Linked DNA regions of Homo sapiens: region 2 is linked to region 1. Evidence: promoter capture Hi-C in human tissues and cell types (Jung and others, 2019). All regions are on one chromosome and are shown on one strand. The core of a region is centred on a gene start or on the middle of the fragment in contact, and the rest is flanking DNA. Distances in the headings are between cores, read along the strand shown. Region 1 holds the start of B4GALT7 (beta-1,4-galactosyltransferase 7). Region 2 holds the start of GMCL2 (germ cell-less 2, spermatogenesis associated).

Region 1 (7,505 bases), core at 2,073-4,572:
CTGCCCCCCTCCCTCTGGCCTCTGGGCCCTTTGCAGTAATCACCCAGGGTCTGGTAAAGCCACTGAGAGCCCTACTGGCACCTCAGAATCACAGTGTTATTGATCAGGGATGTGAGGCTGCTGTTGGGGGTTGGGGGAGGCAAATGGGCAGGCAGTTTTGAGAAGAACCTTCTAATAAGAAATGTGAGGGAGGTTACAGCAGTGTGTGAGAAAGACCAGGAAGAAGGAGACAAGTTTGGGGGCTGCTTCCCCTAATGGGATGATGCAATCTGGGCTCATGCTGCCAACTAATTCTTCCACATGAAAAAAAAAAGTTTTTTGGCGGGCACGGTGGTTCACACCTGTAATCCCAGCACTTTGGGAGGCTGAGGTAGGTGGATGGCCTGAGGCCAGGAGTTTGAGACCAGCCTGGCCAACATGGTGAAACCTCATCTCTACTAAAAATACAAAAAATGAGCCAGGTGTGGTGGCGCATGCCTGAAATCCCAGCTACTTGGGAGGCTGAGGCGGCAGAATTGCTTGAACCCAGGAGACAGAGGTTGCAGTGAGCCAAGATCACACCACTACACTCCAACCTGGGCTACAGTGAGACTCTGTCTCAAAAAAAAAAAAAAAAAAAGGCCGGGAGCGGTGGCTCACACCTGTAACCCCAACACTTTGGGAGGCCAAGGCGAGCAGATCACGAGGTCAGGAGATCGAGACCAACCTGGCTAACATGATGAAACCCCATCTCTACAAAAAAAAAAAAAAAAAAAAATACAAAAAATTAGCCAGGCGTGGTGGTGGGCGCCTGTAGTCCCAGCTCCTTGGGAGGCTGAGGCAGGAGAATGGCGTGAACCCAGGAGGCGGAGCTTGCAGTGAGCCGAGATCACTTCACTGCACTCCAGCCTGAGCAACGGAGCAAGTCTCCATGTCAAAAAAAAAAAAAAAAGTATTTTTAAAGAACAGCTTTAAAAGTGCAGAAAAATTGTGAAGACATTTTCCCTATTAGTAACATCATGCATTACTTTATCCAGACTTCCTTAGTTTTTACCTACTGTCCTTTTTCTGTTCCAGGATTCCACATCACATTTAGTCACTGTGTCTCCTTAGGCTCCTTTTGGCTGTGACAGTTTCTTAGACCTTCCTTGTTTTTGATGATTCCTTGACTGTTTTGAGGAGTACAGGTCAGGTATTTTGTACGATTTCTCAGCTAGGATTTGTCTGATGTTTTTCTCATGATTAGACTAGAGTTGTGGGTTTTTGAAAAGAGACCACAGGCTGGGCATGGTGGCTCACGCCTGTAATCGCAGCACTTTGGGAGGCAGAGGCAGGCGGATCACCTGAGGTCAGGAGTTCGAGACCAGCCGCCAACATGGTAAAACCCCGTCTCTACTAAAAATACAAAAATTAGCCAGGCGTGGTGGCAGGCGCCTGTAATCCCAGCTACTCGGAAGGCTGAGACAGGAGAATTGCTTGACCCCGGGAGGCAGAGGTTGCAGTGAGCCGAGATCGTGCCACTGCACTCCAGCCTGACTGACAGAGTGAGACTCTGTCTCAAAAAATAAATAAATAAATAAAATAAAATAAAATAAAAAAGTAGAAAAGAGATCAGAGTTGAAGTGTCATTATCAACATGGCTCTTAGCTGGATATCACATTTAAAAATTAGATAATTTGGGTTTTCATTTGAGATCTGATTTCTTGAGAGTGTGAATCTGACAATCTGAAGTAGAGCTTCATCCTGATATAGTAACAGCTAACCGGATGGAGTGGTCCCCTTTAGATGGGCTGTGCATTGACCACGGTTCTGGGGTAGGATGCAGTGCCCTGGGGGAGTCAACAGGAAGGGGAATGGGTGGATTATATACTTCCAGGTTTACGGGGTAAAGGGGTTACTGGGAATGATTCATTTCCCACCCACGGTGAAGTTCTCTCTGGAGCAGAGTGATTAAGATCATAGATTGTGGGGAAGAACAAAACAAAAACCCCAAACCCATAGATTTGCAACCAAACTACCTGATTTGCCTCTCTGTGCCTCAGTTCTCTCAATTTTAACTTGGGGATAAGCACCTACCGATAAGGACTACGTGAGATAACCCTCATGTAGTAAGAACTATTAACAATGACTGGCACATAATAAGAACTTAATAGATGTTTGCTATCTATTAGGAAACTTAAAAGTTTGCCTGGAAGAGCAGAGGAGGTCAAGTCTAACAATTGCCGCTTTCTTTCCCCAGGTAGGAGGCTAGTAGGAGGGGTGGGGGGGCTGGGGGTGAGGGGGATGGTTAAGTTCCCACGGTGACGGGGCAGATATGGGAACTCAGTCTCCTATTCCCTTCTTCAGTTCTCAGCTCCACCAAAGTACCCTTTTCCTGGATGACAGCTGTCATTTATATGGCGTTGAACTGTGTGCCTAGCGCTGCACAAGTGTTTGCACTTTCTCCTTGAATCCCCACAGCTACCATATAGAATAGGAGCCATTGATATACCCAGGTGAGGAAACAGATGCAGAGATGTGGCTTGGTCAAAACACAGCTGAATTGGCAGAGTCTAGTTTCTTTTTCTTTTTCTTTTCTTTTTTTTTTGACGGAGTCTCGCCCTGTCACCCAGGCTGGAGTGCAGTGGTGCGATCTCGACTCACTGCAAGCTCCGCCTCCTGGGTTCACACCATGCTCCTGCCTCAGCCTCCCGAGTAGCTGGGACTAACAGGCGCCCGCCACCACGCCCGGCTAATTTTTTGTATTTTTAGTAGAGACGGGGTTTCACCGTGTTAGCCAGGATGGTCTCGCTCTCCTGACCTCGTGATCCGCCCGCCTCGGCCTCCCAAAGTGCTGGGATTACAGGCGTGAGCCACCGCGCCCGGCAAGCAGAGTCGGGTTTCAAATTCAGTCAACTTGTCTTCAGGGCTCGGCTCCTAACGCCTGCGCGGGCTGTCAGCTGAACTCAGCGCCGAGCCGTGAGCTTGGCTTTGCCCCTCCAAGCTTGCGCGGAGAACGCGCCGCCTGGGCCGAGACGGGGACCCCGGGACGCTCCCGCCTCCCCTCGGAAAGAGGACGGAGATGCAGATTCTCCCCGAGCGTTGGTTTGGGAGTCTGGACTCTTAGGTCCAGTCCCAGCCCAGTGATTTGTTGGGAGGCCCTGGGCCTCTGGGCTTCAGTTTCTCGGGCTTCCAGGCGGGTCCCGGGGCGGCTAGGAAGGAGCCGCCCAGAGAGGGAGGCGCGCCCGCGCTGCTCGCAAGCAGAACCTTGGAGGCGGCGGCTCCGGGAGCTGGCGGCGCGGCCGGAGCGGCGGACCCGGCGGACCGGGGGGCGGGGCGGACAGGCCTGGGCGGAGCGGGAGGCGGAGGCGCCGCGTAGGCCCGGGAGGCCGGGCCGGCCGGGCTGCGAGCGCCTGCCCCATGCGCCGCCGCCTCTCCGCACGATGTTCCCCTCGCGGAGGAAAGCGGCGCAGCTGCCCTGGGAGGACGGCAGGTGAGCGGCGGCGGTGGGCCCGGGCCCCGTCCTCCCGGGCGCCGCTCCCTTCTCGGCCGCCGGCGGAATCTGGGAACCCGAGGCCATCACGTCTCCATGTCTGCGGGTTTCTGTGAGGGCGTGTGGTTCTCCCTGTGGGTCCCTGGCGCTCTGTTCCGGTTTCTGTCTGTCCCTGTGGGTCTCTGCCTCCCCCGCCCCCTCTCCCTTTCCGCGGCACTCGTCCTTCCCCCAGCACCTTCCCCCCGGCCCGTGGGTCCGTATTTCTCCATTGACTTCCCTTTGTGAGTTTCTGATCCCCTCTTTGCTAGTCTCTCTCGTTATGTGTTTCGTTGTGTCTGTGTTTCTCCACCAGCCTCCCTCTATCTGCATGCGGGTCTCTGACTCCGCTGACCTCTCACCATGGATTTGTGTTTCTCAATTTGTCTCTGATCCCTGAGGACGTGTATTCCGTTTCTCTGGTCTCTGCCTTCCTCATCACATCCATATAGCCTCAGACCCTACCCTTCCTCCTTAACACTTCCCCCCATCCTTCGCAGGCCACCAGCAGAACCCACCAGACAGAAGCTCCGTGCTCTGCCTGGCTGGTCACTGCCTGGCACGTACTAGACACTCCTTATACACGCATTAGTCCATTTCCTGTGCAGCTGTATTGGCCCTACGTGAAAGATGCGAGCTTGGCCCACACCTTAGCTAATTTTGTTTCTCACTAAAGCAGAATGGGGAAAGCGATTTGACTGCCTCCATTCGTGGGGCACTTGAGATGTGTCCCTGTAAGTCTTCTCACAGAACACATGACTGGATCTCCTCCTCGTGAATGACACCTCATTTCCTTCATGTTTCTTAAGTCCGTCAGGTGCCATAAGATTCTGGAATTTAGTGGCCACAACTTGTACTTTTGGGGATTTTTCAGACTTGGTGTTGAAAGGGGAAAACAGGAATATAATAGAAAGCGTGGACTAGCGTTCGACCTGGGCAGGAGTCCTCCGTAATTATGTGAGCAGAGACCCCTGCATCTGTCCGACCGCAGCCTTTCCGTCACTGAGCCAGTTATGACAGTATTGGCTCTGCAGGGCTGTGTGAGGATTAAAGGACCGCACACATGTAAAGAGCATGGCACTGCCTAGCACAACAGGAGGTGCCAGTTGTCTTCCCGTTACCTTTGCAGTTTTGAGGTCCTGTAACCAGAGCAGCTGAGGATTCAAACCTCGTAGTACGAAGGTCTGTATGAGACAAGAAAGGAAAGGTAACAGAGGAGCATTTCTATTTCCTGATCCTTTTCCATAGCTGTTTCCAGAGAAATTTACTGATGTCAATTCTGTGCTTTTGACACAGGGTTGGTGCAAAGATCCACGCAACTGATGCAGGCTAGTGTAGCTATCTAGTGTAGGCTCTGGAGCCAGCCTGCCTGGGTTTGAATCCGCCTTTTACTAGTCTTGGGCAGTGATTGATGAGGGAGACAAAGCCTCTTCTGGACTGCCCCTCAGAGCCAGGGTGGCCTGGGCCTGGGAGCCACTGGGACTGCAAATCTGGTTTGCCACCTGGTGGCACCAGGAACAATTGTTCTCGGTGTCCACTGTCCTGAGGAATTGGGACTCTGGGTTCAATCCAGTTGCTCTGCGGTTTGTGCTCTTAGAGCACAGGATGATGCCCATGGGGATGTGGTCCTCATAGGAGAGGGGAGCAGGGCCGAGGGAATTAGCGTGTGGACGTGCTCGGAGTACCCAGTCCACGCCGTTCCCCTGGATAATAGTCACTGCTTCTTTTCATGAAGGTGGGATATCACCCCATATCCATCTCTCCAGTCTCTACCCTGTCCCCAGAAAAAGCCCAGAGGGCAAGGGAGAATCTGTAGAGGTTCCAGCCTTCCCAGACCACTCTCAGGACTGGGCTGTGCTCCTCCCCAGCTGAATCCACCACCACAGGATAATGGGGGGTAAGTCAGAAGCCCTGGGGGGTTTCCTACCAGGCCACCTCTCAGCTGCGTGTGGAACCTGGGCCTGGCTGCAAGGCTACTGGCTTCCAGGTTGGCGGTCTCTCTAGAAAAAGGGAGGAGTTGGTCTGGCTTTAGCATGTGACTTAAGGCATGCCCTGACTGCCTTACCCCTTTCTGTAACTCACTTGGCAAGCTCTCTGCTGTCTGGCCTGTGCTTGCTGTGCTGGGGCCACAGATAAGAATCTGACACGGCCTGAGAAGCAAGGACACAAGGCATTACAAAAAAGTGGGAAGATGCCGTGGGAATACAAAAGTGGGAGCATTATGGGGGCAGGGGGCAGTGCTGGCCATGACATTGGAGTTCGGCTCTGAAGGATCAACAGGGGTCCTCAGGCAGATAAAGAAGGACATTTCAGGCAGAAGGAGCAGGCTGTGTGAGGGCTGGAGCAGGAAGGAATATAGCAAGTGGAGAAGCTCCGAGGTGCCCAACATGAGAACATGGGGCGAAGGCTTGGGAGCACCTGGAGTTGGGGCCAGGTCATGGAGGGCTTTGACTGTCAGGCCAAAGGGCTTGGCCTTTGTCTGGCAAACAGAGGAGGGTCATTCAGAAGACTGAAGGGGTCTGAGCAGGGCAAGGAACAGATGAGTGAGGAAGGATCAGAGGGGGACTTAGGAGATAGAATTTATTTATTTATTTATTTATTTATGAGATGGAGTCTCGCTCTGTTGCCCAGGCTGGAGTGCAGTGGCGTGATCTCAGCTCACTGCAACCTCCGCCTCCCAGATTCAAGCTATGCTTCTGCCTCAGCCTCCCAAGTAGCTGGGACTATAGGCGCGTACCACCACACCCAGCTAATTTTTGTATTTTTAGTAGAGATGGGGTGTTACCATATTTGCCAGGCTGGTCTTGAGCTCCTGACCTCGTGATGCACCTGCCTCGGCCTCCCAAAGTGCTGGGATTACAGGCGTGAGCCACCACGCCTGGCCAGGAGATAGAATTTATAAGACCTGATAGCTAATCGCTGACTCTTAAGATTGTGAAGTGGATTCCTTTGCAGATTACTTTGGGGAGAAGGTAGGGGGAGTACAGAGGAAGCTTCTCCCTTCATGGATTCCTCAGCTCCTGTCTCAGCATACTCAGGAACTTCCAGAGGAGCGGCAAAGGAATCTGGTGAATTCTGTTTCTTTGTATTTGCTAACCAAAAGGCTGTCTCCTGGCATCACCCCAGTGTCTGTGATGTTCAGCTGTTTTTCCAGTTTCTGAAATCAGTGCCTGTGCTGTACCCAGCCCTCATCTTTCTTTCCCTCTCCATCTCCCATCTTTTATCATGAGCTGCCTCTTGGACTAAAGGTTTGAGGCTCGTTCAGTGAACCGCCACTGACAGTTTGGGCCTTGCATTGCTTCGGGGGGCACGTCTGATCTTCCCAGAGTAAACATTGGTCATTTTACCTGGACTAATGCCAGCACACACCCGTGTCTGGGTGGCCTTTCTGGTCATTCTTGGAAGCAGGATGGAGCCACGGTTTCTGCTGGGGTGGATCTGTAGGGGAGCGGGTTTGGAAAGCAGTGGGTTGCATCTCTAAGGTGGGGACTCCTGTCATTGGCTCAGGACATTGAGCCACTATCGTGGGGAGGAGCACCTGCAAGTGACAGGAGCCTCCTCATCCTTGCCCTGAGCAGCTCTGACCAGGACTCAGTCACAGAAAGTAAGAGAGCATTGAGGAGCCGGGGCAGCTCTGTGAACTGGGAGTGGTTCAGAGGGCTTCCCGAGAGCGGGTGGCATGGGTTGGGTCTAGAGAGGCAAGCAGGATTCGGATGCATGGTAGTGGCATGAGCAGAAACATTAAAGTTGCTTCTGTACTAATTCCCAGGTGCTTGGGGTAGACGAGTTATGTGCAGCCTCCTCGTGGGGAGGCCAGAGAACGGGTCTGTCACAGGGCCAGCCCTGCCCCGCCCTCCTGACCCTGTCCCGCGCTTGCTCCAGGTCCGGGTTGCTCTCCGGCGGCCTCCCTCGGAAGTGTTCCGTCTTCCACCTGTTCGTGGCCTGCCTCTCGCTGGGCTTCTTCTCCCTACTCTGGCTGCAGCTCAGCTGCTCTGGGGACGTGGCCCGGGCAGTCAGG
Region 2 (7,505 bases), core at 1,902-4,401, 590 kb after region 1:
CAATAATATTCATGCTGGATTCTTTCCAAGAACCACTGAACATACTAGAAAAGTAGCCAGATTGACATAAATATATTTTGTGTAATCGCCATTCTTCTCCTAGAGCACAAATCTTAATGTCACTGTTTTCACCATTCAAAAATAATGTTTGATAAATATATTTGGATGTACTCCTTAATTTTTTCCTTGCAGGGGTGTTGAGGAGCGGCTGCTGCTTGTCCCCCTCCTCCTCATGCTCCTCCCTGTGCGAGTCCGGGTCACAGTAGCGGCAGGCCCCGCTGCTCCGCTTGCGCTTGTGACTGCCCGGGCAGTAACAGAAGCCGTAGCTCGCCGCATCGTCTCCAGTGTCCGGCCTCCGGGCCGAGCCCCTGGCCCTGGCACCCTGTTCCTGCTGGGCAAGGGCTCGCCTCGGCTGGCCCAGCACCCGGCTGCTCGACGATCCCATGGGTCACGGCTCCCCAGGACTTCAGGGAGCCCAGAGGAGGGGGTCTCTGGCCATGGCCCGGCCGCCGCCGCCAGCCTTCCCCGAGCACAGGTGCCTACACCGCCACCTTCTCACGCGCAGCCCCAACCGTTGCAGCGGACACTGCCGCCTCCAACCTCCGCACCCCTCCCCCACAATTTTTTTTTTTTTTTTTTTTTGAGACGGAGTCTTGCTCTGTCGCCCAGGCTGGAGTGCAGTGGCGCGATCTCGGCTCACTGCAACCTCTGCCTCGCGGGTTCAAGTGATTCTCCTGCCTCAGCCTCCTGAGTAGCTGGGATTACAGGCGCCCGCCACCACACCTGGGTAATTTTTGTATTTTTAGTAGAGGCGGGGTTTCCCCATGTTGGCCAGGCTGGTCTCAAACTCCTGACTTCAGGTGATCCTCTTACCTTGGCCTCCCAAAGTGCTGGGACTACAGGCGTGAGCCACTGCCTCCGGCCTAAAACAATTTCTTTTAGAGACAAGGTTTCACTGTGTTTCTCCGGGTGGTCTTGAACTCCTTGGACAGCATTCTTCATTGCTGGAAGCAATTCTCATCTGGCAGCCAAAACCAAGGTCCGTTTTAGAAGGACCACTTCCCTAGGAGCAAAGTTTTATTTGCAAGACCTGACAAAGGAAAATGTGTGTACCAGACGCTTGAGCCTAACCAGTCCAATGTAAATTTGCGACCAGGCACAAAAATAAAATAAAATAATAAAATAAAATAGGCCAGGCTCGGTGGCTCATGCCTATAATCCCAGCACTTTGGGAGGCCAAGGTGGGTGGATCACATGAGGTCAGGAGTTTGAGACTGGCCTGGCCAACATGGTGAAACCCCATCTCTACTAATAATATAAAATTTAGCCAGGTGTGGTGGTGCACGCCTGTAATCCCAGCTTTTCGGGAGGCTGAAATGGAGAACTGCTTGAACCCAGGAGGCAGAAGTTGCAGTGAGCCAAGATCGCATCATTACATTCCAGCCTGGGCGACAAGAGCGAAATTCCGTCTCCAGAAAAAAATAATAAGATAAAATAAAATAGAATAAAGACTTGAAGTCAAGCCAGGTACGGTGGCTGCTCACACCTGTAATCCCAGCACTTTGGGAGGCCGAGGTGGGCAGATCACGAGGTCAGGAGTTCAAGACCAGCCTGGCCAATATGGTGAAAGTGACCATGGCTGGGTGAAATGATCACTGCAGCCGGTCTGGGAAGGCAGAAGCAAGCAGAGGGCCTGGGCAGGATAGGCAGGGATTCTCTGTGGGGAGGATCTGTGGAGACAGGGGCAGCAGGATTAGGATGTCGGAATTGAGGAGGCTTTTGTCCTTGGGGGATGGAGTGGAGAAGTGGGGCATGGTCCTGGAAATTTGCCCTGCAGCCTCACCAGGCCATCTGGAAGCTACTTGTTGGGAACCCCGTGTGTGTAAAGGGCTGACCCAGGCCCAGACCCGGAGGAACTGGAGAAGGGCACACACTGAGACCACCCGAGGGGTGTGCTGGAACTGCTTGGCCAGTCCTTGGGGATGGGATGGCTGGGGCATGTGGGTGTCTTCCTGTAAGAAAACAGGACTTGATGAGGAAGGTGGGAGGCTGTTCCAGGCAGATGGAGGTCTGTGCCCCCAGAGCAATGTAGGAGTCGCCATGCGGGGCTCCATCTTTGGTACAGTGGGGGCAGAGATTGGCGAGGGGCATCAGGGCCAGATATGTAGGTGTGGGGAGCCCTAGATGGGCCAGTGCTGCAGGGGGAGGCAAGGTCATGCCAGGGAGGTGGATGGGACGCTGGACACAAGTGAAGAGTGACCAGCCCTGTGGCTTCCTCAAACCTATGTGAGTGCCTGCCCCATTCCCAGATGAAGAAAACAGAGGTTTCAATAGGGAAAGTGACTTGTTCTAAATCCCAGAGTTGGGAAGTCAGGAAGCTCAGCCTCCTGATTCCAAAGGCAAATCTGGAGTTTCTGTTGGAGTTAAGGGGCCAGGTGAATGGTCTATGTTGACCAAAAAAAAAAAAAAAAAAAAAAAAAAGCTCTGTAAAATGTTTAAAGAAGTTTATTCTCTGGCGTGAACCCGGGAGGCAGAGCTTGCGCCACTGCACTCCAGCCTGGGTGACAGAGCGAGACTCCATCTCAAAAAAAAAAAAAAAAAAAGAAGTTTATTCTCAGCTGATATGAGTGACCATGACCTGGGGTACAGTCTCAAGAGGTCCTGAGAAAGTGTGCCTCAGATGGTTGGGTTATAGTTTGGTTTTATACATTTTAGGGAGACAGAGGTTACAAGCAAATACATCAATCAATACATGTAAAGTACACATTGCTTCAGCCTATAAGGGCAGGACAACTCCAGGGGAGTTACAGGTCATAGGTGATTCAAAGGTTTTCTGATTGGCAATTGGTTGAAAAAGTTAAGCTTTGTCTAAAGAGTTGAAGTGGCTGGGTACAATGACTGACATCTGTAATCCCAGCACTTTGAGAGGCCGAGGAGGATGGCTTGATCCCAGGAGTTTTCAACAAGCCTGGGCAGCGTAGTGAGACCCGGTGTCTACAAAAAAATTTTAAAAATTAATTGGGCATCGTGATGTGCACCTGTAGTCCCAGCTACTTGGGAGGCTAAGGTGGGAGGATTACTTAAGCCCAGGAGGTCGAGCCTATGGTGAGCCATGACTGTGACACTGCATTCCAACTCGGGGGACAGAATGAGACCCTGTCTCAAAAATAAAATAAAACAGGCCAGTTGCAGTAGCTCACACCTGTAATCCCAGCACTTTGGGAGGCCAAGGCAGATGGATCACTTGAGGTCAGGAGTTCAATACCAGCCTGGCCAATATGGTGAAACCCCATCTCTACTAGAAATAGAAAAATTAACTGGGAGTGGTGGCATGCATCTGTAATCCCAGCTACTCTGGAGCCTGAGGCAGGATAATTGCCTGAACCTGGGAGGTGGATGTTGCAGTTAGCCGAGGTCGCACCATTGCACTCCAGCCTGGGCAACAAGAGTGAAACTCCATCTCCAAAAAAAATAGTAAGATAAAATAAAATAAAGAGTTGAAGGCATGGTGGCTCACGCCTGTAATCCCAGCAGTTTGGAGGCCAAGGAGGGCAGATCACGAGGTCAGGAGTTCGAGACCAGCCTGGCCAATATGGTGAAACCCTGTCTCTACTAATAGTACAAAAATTAACTGGGTGTGGTAGCACACATCTGTAGTCTCAGCTACTCTGGAGGCTGAAGCAGGAGAATCGCTTGAACCCAGGGAGGTGGAGGTTGCATTGCACTCCAGCCTGGGCGACAGAGCGAGATTCCATCTCAAAAAAAAAAAAAAAAGCGTTGAAGTCAGTGGGAAGAAATGCTTGGGTTAAGAAAGGGGTTGTGGAAGCTGAGGTTCTTGTTACGTAGATGAAGCCTCCAGGTAGCAGCCCTCAGAATAGATAGTGAATGTCTCTTTTCAGACCTTCAAAAGTCTCAGACTCTCATTGAATCTCTCCTAAATCTGACAAAGTCCTGGCTACATTAATGGAAATTCTCTACAGATGCAAATTTCCCCCATGGGAGACAGCTTTGCAGGGCCATTTCAAAATATTGTCAAATAAATATATTTTGGGGTAAAATATTTTGATGCCCTTCAGGGTCTGCTATCTGTTACGTGATGTACCAGAGTCAGGTAGAAATTTGGCATCTTATTGCTACAAAAATTCTGTTTTGAGCCAGGCACGGTGTCTCACACCTGTAATCCCAGCACTTTGGGAGGCTGAGGTGGGTGGATCACCTGAGGTCAAGAGGTCAAGAGTTTGAGAGCAGCCTGGCCAACATAGTGAAACCCCATCTCTACTAAAAATACAAAAAATTAGCTGGATGTGGTGGTGGGCGCCTGTATTCCCAGCTACTCAGGAGGCTGAGGCAGAAGAATTACTTGAACCCGGGGGCCAGAGGTTGCAGTGAGCCAAGATCATGCCATTGCACTCCAGCCTGGGCAACAAGAGCGAAACTCTGTCTAAAAAAAAAAAGTCTGTTTTGTCAGTCTTATGATCTCTATTTTATTTATTTATTTTTAATTTATTTTATTTTATTTTTGAGACAGAGTTTCACTCTCGTTGCCCAGGCTGGAGTGTAATGACGCTATCTCGGCTCACTGCAGCTTCTACCTCCCAGGGTCAGACAATTCTTGTGCCTCAGCTTCCCAAGTAGCTGAGATTACAGGCATGTGCCACCATGCCTGGCTAATTTTTTGAATTTTTTGTAGAGATGGGGTTTCATCATGTTGGCCAGGTTGGTCTCGAACTCCTGACCTCAAGTGATCCACCTGCCTTGGCCTCCCAAACTGCTGGGATTACAGGAATGAGCCACTGCGCCTGGCTAGAATAAATACTTTATGCTTTGGGCCAACAGGCAAAATCGAGGGTATGAAGTCGGTAAGTACATACCAAGAAATGAAACCAACTTCCATAATTTGGGGGGATTGCTATTGACAGAATGTCAAAGTTAATTTATGGATGCTGAAAGTTGAGTTTCATACAATTTTTATGTGTCATGAAATATTATTATTTTCATTATTTATTTATTTATTTGTTTATTTATTTATTTATTTTTGATACAGAGTCTTGCTCTGTCATCCAGACTGTGATCTCAGCTCACTGCGACCTCTGCCTTCTGGGTTCAAGCGATCCTCTGCCTCAGCCTCCCAAGTAGCTGGGATTACAGGCACATGCCACCACACCTGGCTAATTTTTTTGTATTTTTAGTAGAGATGGGGTTTCACCATGTTCAAGGCCAGGCTGGTCTTGAACTCCTGACCTCAAGTGATCTGCCTGCCTCAGCCTCCCAAAGTGCTGGGATTATAGGTGTGAGCCACTGCACTCAGCCTGATTTTTTTTTCAATGATTTAAAAATGTAAAAACCATTCTTTGTTCAGGGATCATATAAAATCAAGCAGTAAGCAAAATTTGGGCTATGGGCCATAGTTTGCCAACTCCTGGTCTAGATCTGCCCTGTTCATCATAGTAGCCACTGGCTACATGCAGCTATTGAGTACTTGAAATGTGGCCAGGGACAGTCACGATGGCTCACACCTGTAATCTCAGCACTTTTGGAGGTTAACGTGGGAGGATGGCTTGAACCCAGCAGTTTCAAGTTACAGCAAACTATGATTGCAACACTGCATCCCAAACCTGGGTGACAGGGAAAGAAAGAAAAAGAGAGAGAGAGAGGGAGGGAGAGAGAGAGAGAGAAGGAGGAGGAGGAGGAGGAGAAAGAGAGAAAAGAAAGAAAGAGAAAGAAAGAAGAAAAAGAAAGAAGAAAGAAAATAAGAAATAAGAAAGGAAGAAAAAAGAAAGAGGGAGGGAGAAAGGGAGGAAGGAAGGGAAGGGAGGGAGGAAAAGAAAAAGAAGTGTGGCTGTACTGAATTAAAATATGCTTAGGTGTAAAATACACACTAGATTTTGAAGACAGTACAAAAAGAAAATATCCCAATAACTTTTTGTTGATTATATTTTGGATATCTCAGAATAAGTAAAATATATTATTGAAATTAACTTCACCCCCCCCCCTTTTTTTTTTTACTTTTTTTTACTTTGTCTTAGTCCACTTTCTGTTGTTCGAATATCTGAGACTGGATAATTTTTAAAGAAAAGAGGTTTATTTAGCTCACGGTTCTGCAGGCTGGGAAGTTCCAGATTGGACGGCTGCATCTGGCAGCTTCTGGTGAGAGCTGTGTGCTGCACCAAAATGTGGCAGAGAAATGGAAGGCGGACCAGGCACCTGGAGGAAAGGGGGAAAACACGAGGGGCGACCTTGCTTGATGACAACCCAACTCTGAAGGTAACTGATCCAGACCCAAGAGAGTGAGAACTCACTTCTATGGGACTTGCATTAATATCCTGTCGTGAAGGCCCATCCCTCATGATCCAAACACCCCTGAAAGGTCCCCCCACGTCTCAATGCCGTTATATTGGCAATTAAATTTCAACATGAGTTTTGGTAGGGGCAAACCACATCCAAACCATAGCATCTTCTCACTGTTGAGTCACTTTTTAATGTGGCTATTAGAAAAATTTAAATGACATGTGTGTTTGCACTTGTGGCTGTTTTGCATCCGTATCTGGTATACAGTGCTGCTCTAGTAGTGAAGGTGGAGCGCCCCGAGTGAGATGACCCCGATTTGCCTCGGGGGGAAGTGGAAGGGCGTGGCCTGGTGTTCAGCAGTGGAGTGTGGGATCACGGAGGGACAGCTGGATCTCATTAAGGTGAAGTGGAGGGGCAGGGTTCACGGAGGCACACACTGAGGAAGCTTCTGCAGCAGTGAGTTGAGGGAGTGGTTAGGCTTTGTGGGTAGGGGACTGAGCTGTTTGAGGGTATCTGTAAGAGGCTGTGCAGCAAGGCAGGTGGCAAGAAGCAAGATGTTGGCTGGGCATGGTGGCACATGCCTGTAATCCCAGCACTTTGGGAGGCCAAGGCAGGAGGATTGCTTGAGGCTGGGAGTTTGAGACCAGCCTGATCAACATAGTGAGACCACGTCTCTATAAAAAATAAATCAATAAATAAAATTTAAAAAGCAAGATGTTGCCAAGCAGTTGGCCAAGTGGTGAGTATGAAAGAGAGAGACCCTGCCCTGAGGGCTTTCTGTCTCTCACCCACCTGGATCAGCACACAGCATGTATTTGTCTTCCACTCCAAGCCTACATCCTGGCCCCTGTTGGAGAAGGGCTCTGACCAGTTCACTGGCAGAATATGAAAATTGTATGTTAAGACATGCACGGCATGAAGCCCTAAGAAGCCAAGAATCCTTTCTTTTCACAGCAGGAGAAGGCCTCTGGCTGTTTCCCTGTGTTGACTGGAGGCTGAGTCTCTGTCCTCGACACCCCACCCGCTGCTGCCTCCTCTGCCCTGCCTGGGGAGCCCTGCCTTGCCTGGCCCTGTGCTGGGAACGGCCAGAGCTGGGGCTTCTTGCGTTTCCTGTTCACACCCGCAGAGCCAGCTTTGCCTTCCCCTCTGCTGTGCAGGGAGAAGGGAGGTGGGAGGTGCGGAGGGGATGGTCCTGTCTGTGGCTTCCTATTTCTTGG

Evidence for each region. The method cuts DNA at HindIII sites, captures the fragments that hold promoters and counts their contacts. A contact is called where the count stands out against the background at its distance.
Region 2: a fragment that was not itself captured here is called in contact with the fragment with the promoter of B4GALT7 in region 1 in 2 of the 25 tissues and cell types used here (lymphoblastoid cells and small bowel).

What each region holds. Positions count from the first base shown.
Region 1 is chr5:177,596,810-177,604,314 of GRCh38, forward strand. It overlaps B4GALT7 (beta-1,4-galactosyltransferase 7), which reads left to right and starts at 3,323. Exons shown (of 6, transcript NM_007255.3): 1 at 3,323-3,451; 2 at 7,370-7,505. The coding sequence starts at 3,402. TMED9 (transmembrane p24 trafficking protein 9) reads left to right here. Exons shown (of 5, transcript NM_017510.6): 5 at 1-433. RefSeq lists enhancers at 2,476-2,575, 2,776-2,955 and a silencer at 3,136-3,675. The HindIII fragment of the contact is 7,199 bases long and covers 781-7,505 here.
Region 2 is chr5:178,186,855-178,194,359 of GRCh38, forward strand. It overlaps GMCL2 (germ cell-less 2, spermatogenesis associated), which reads right to left and starts at 517. Exons shown (of 1, transcript NM_001358008.2): 1 at 1-517. The coding sequence starts at 445. The HindIII fragment of the contact is 8,651 bases long and covers 1-7,477 here.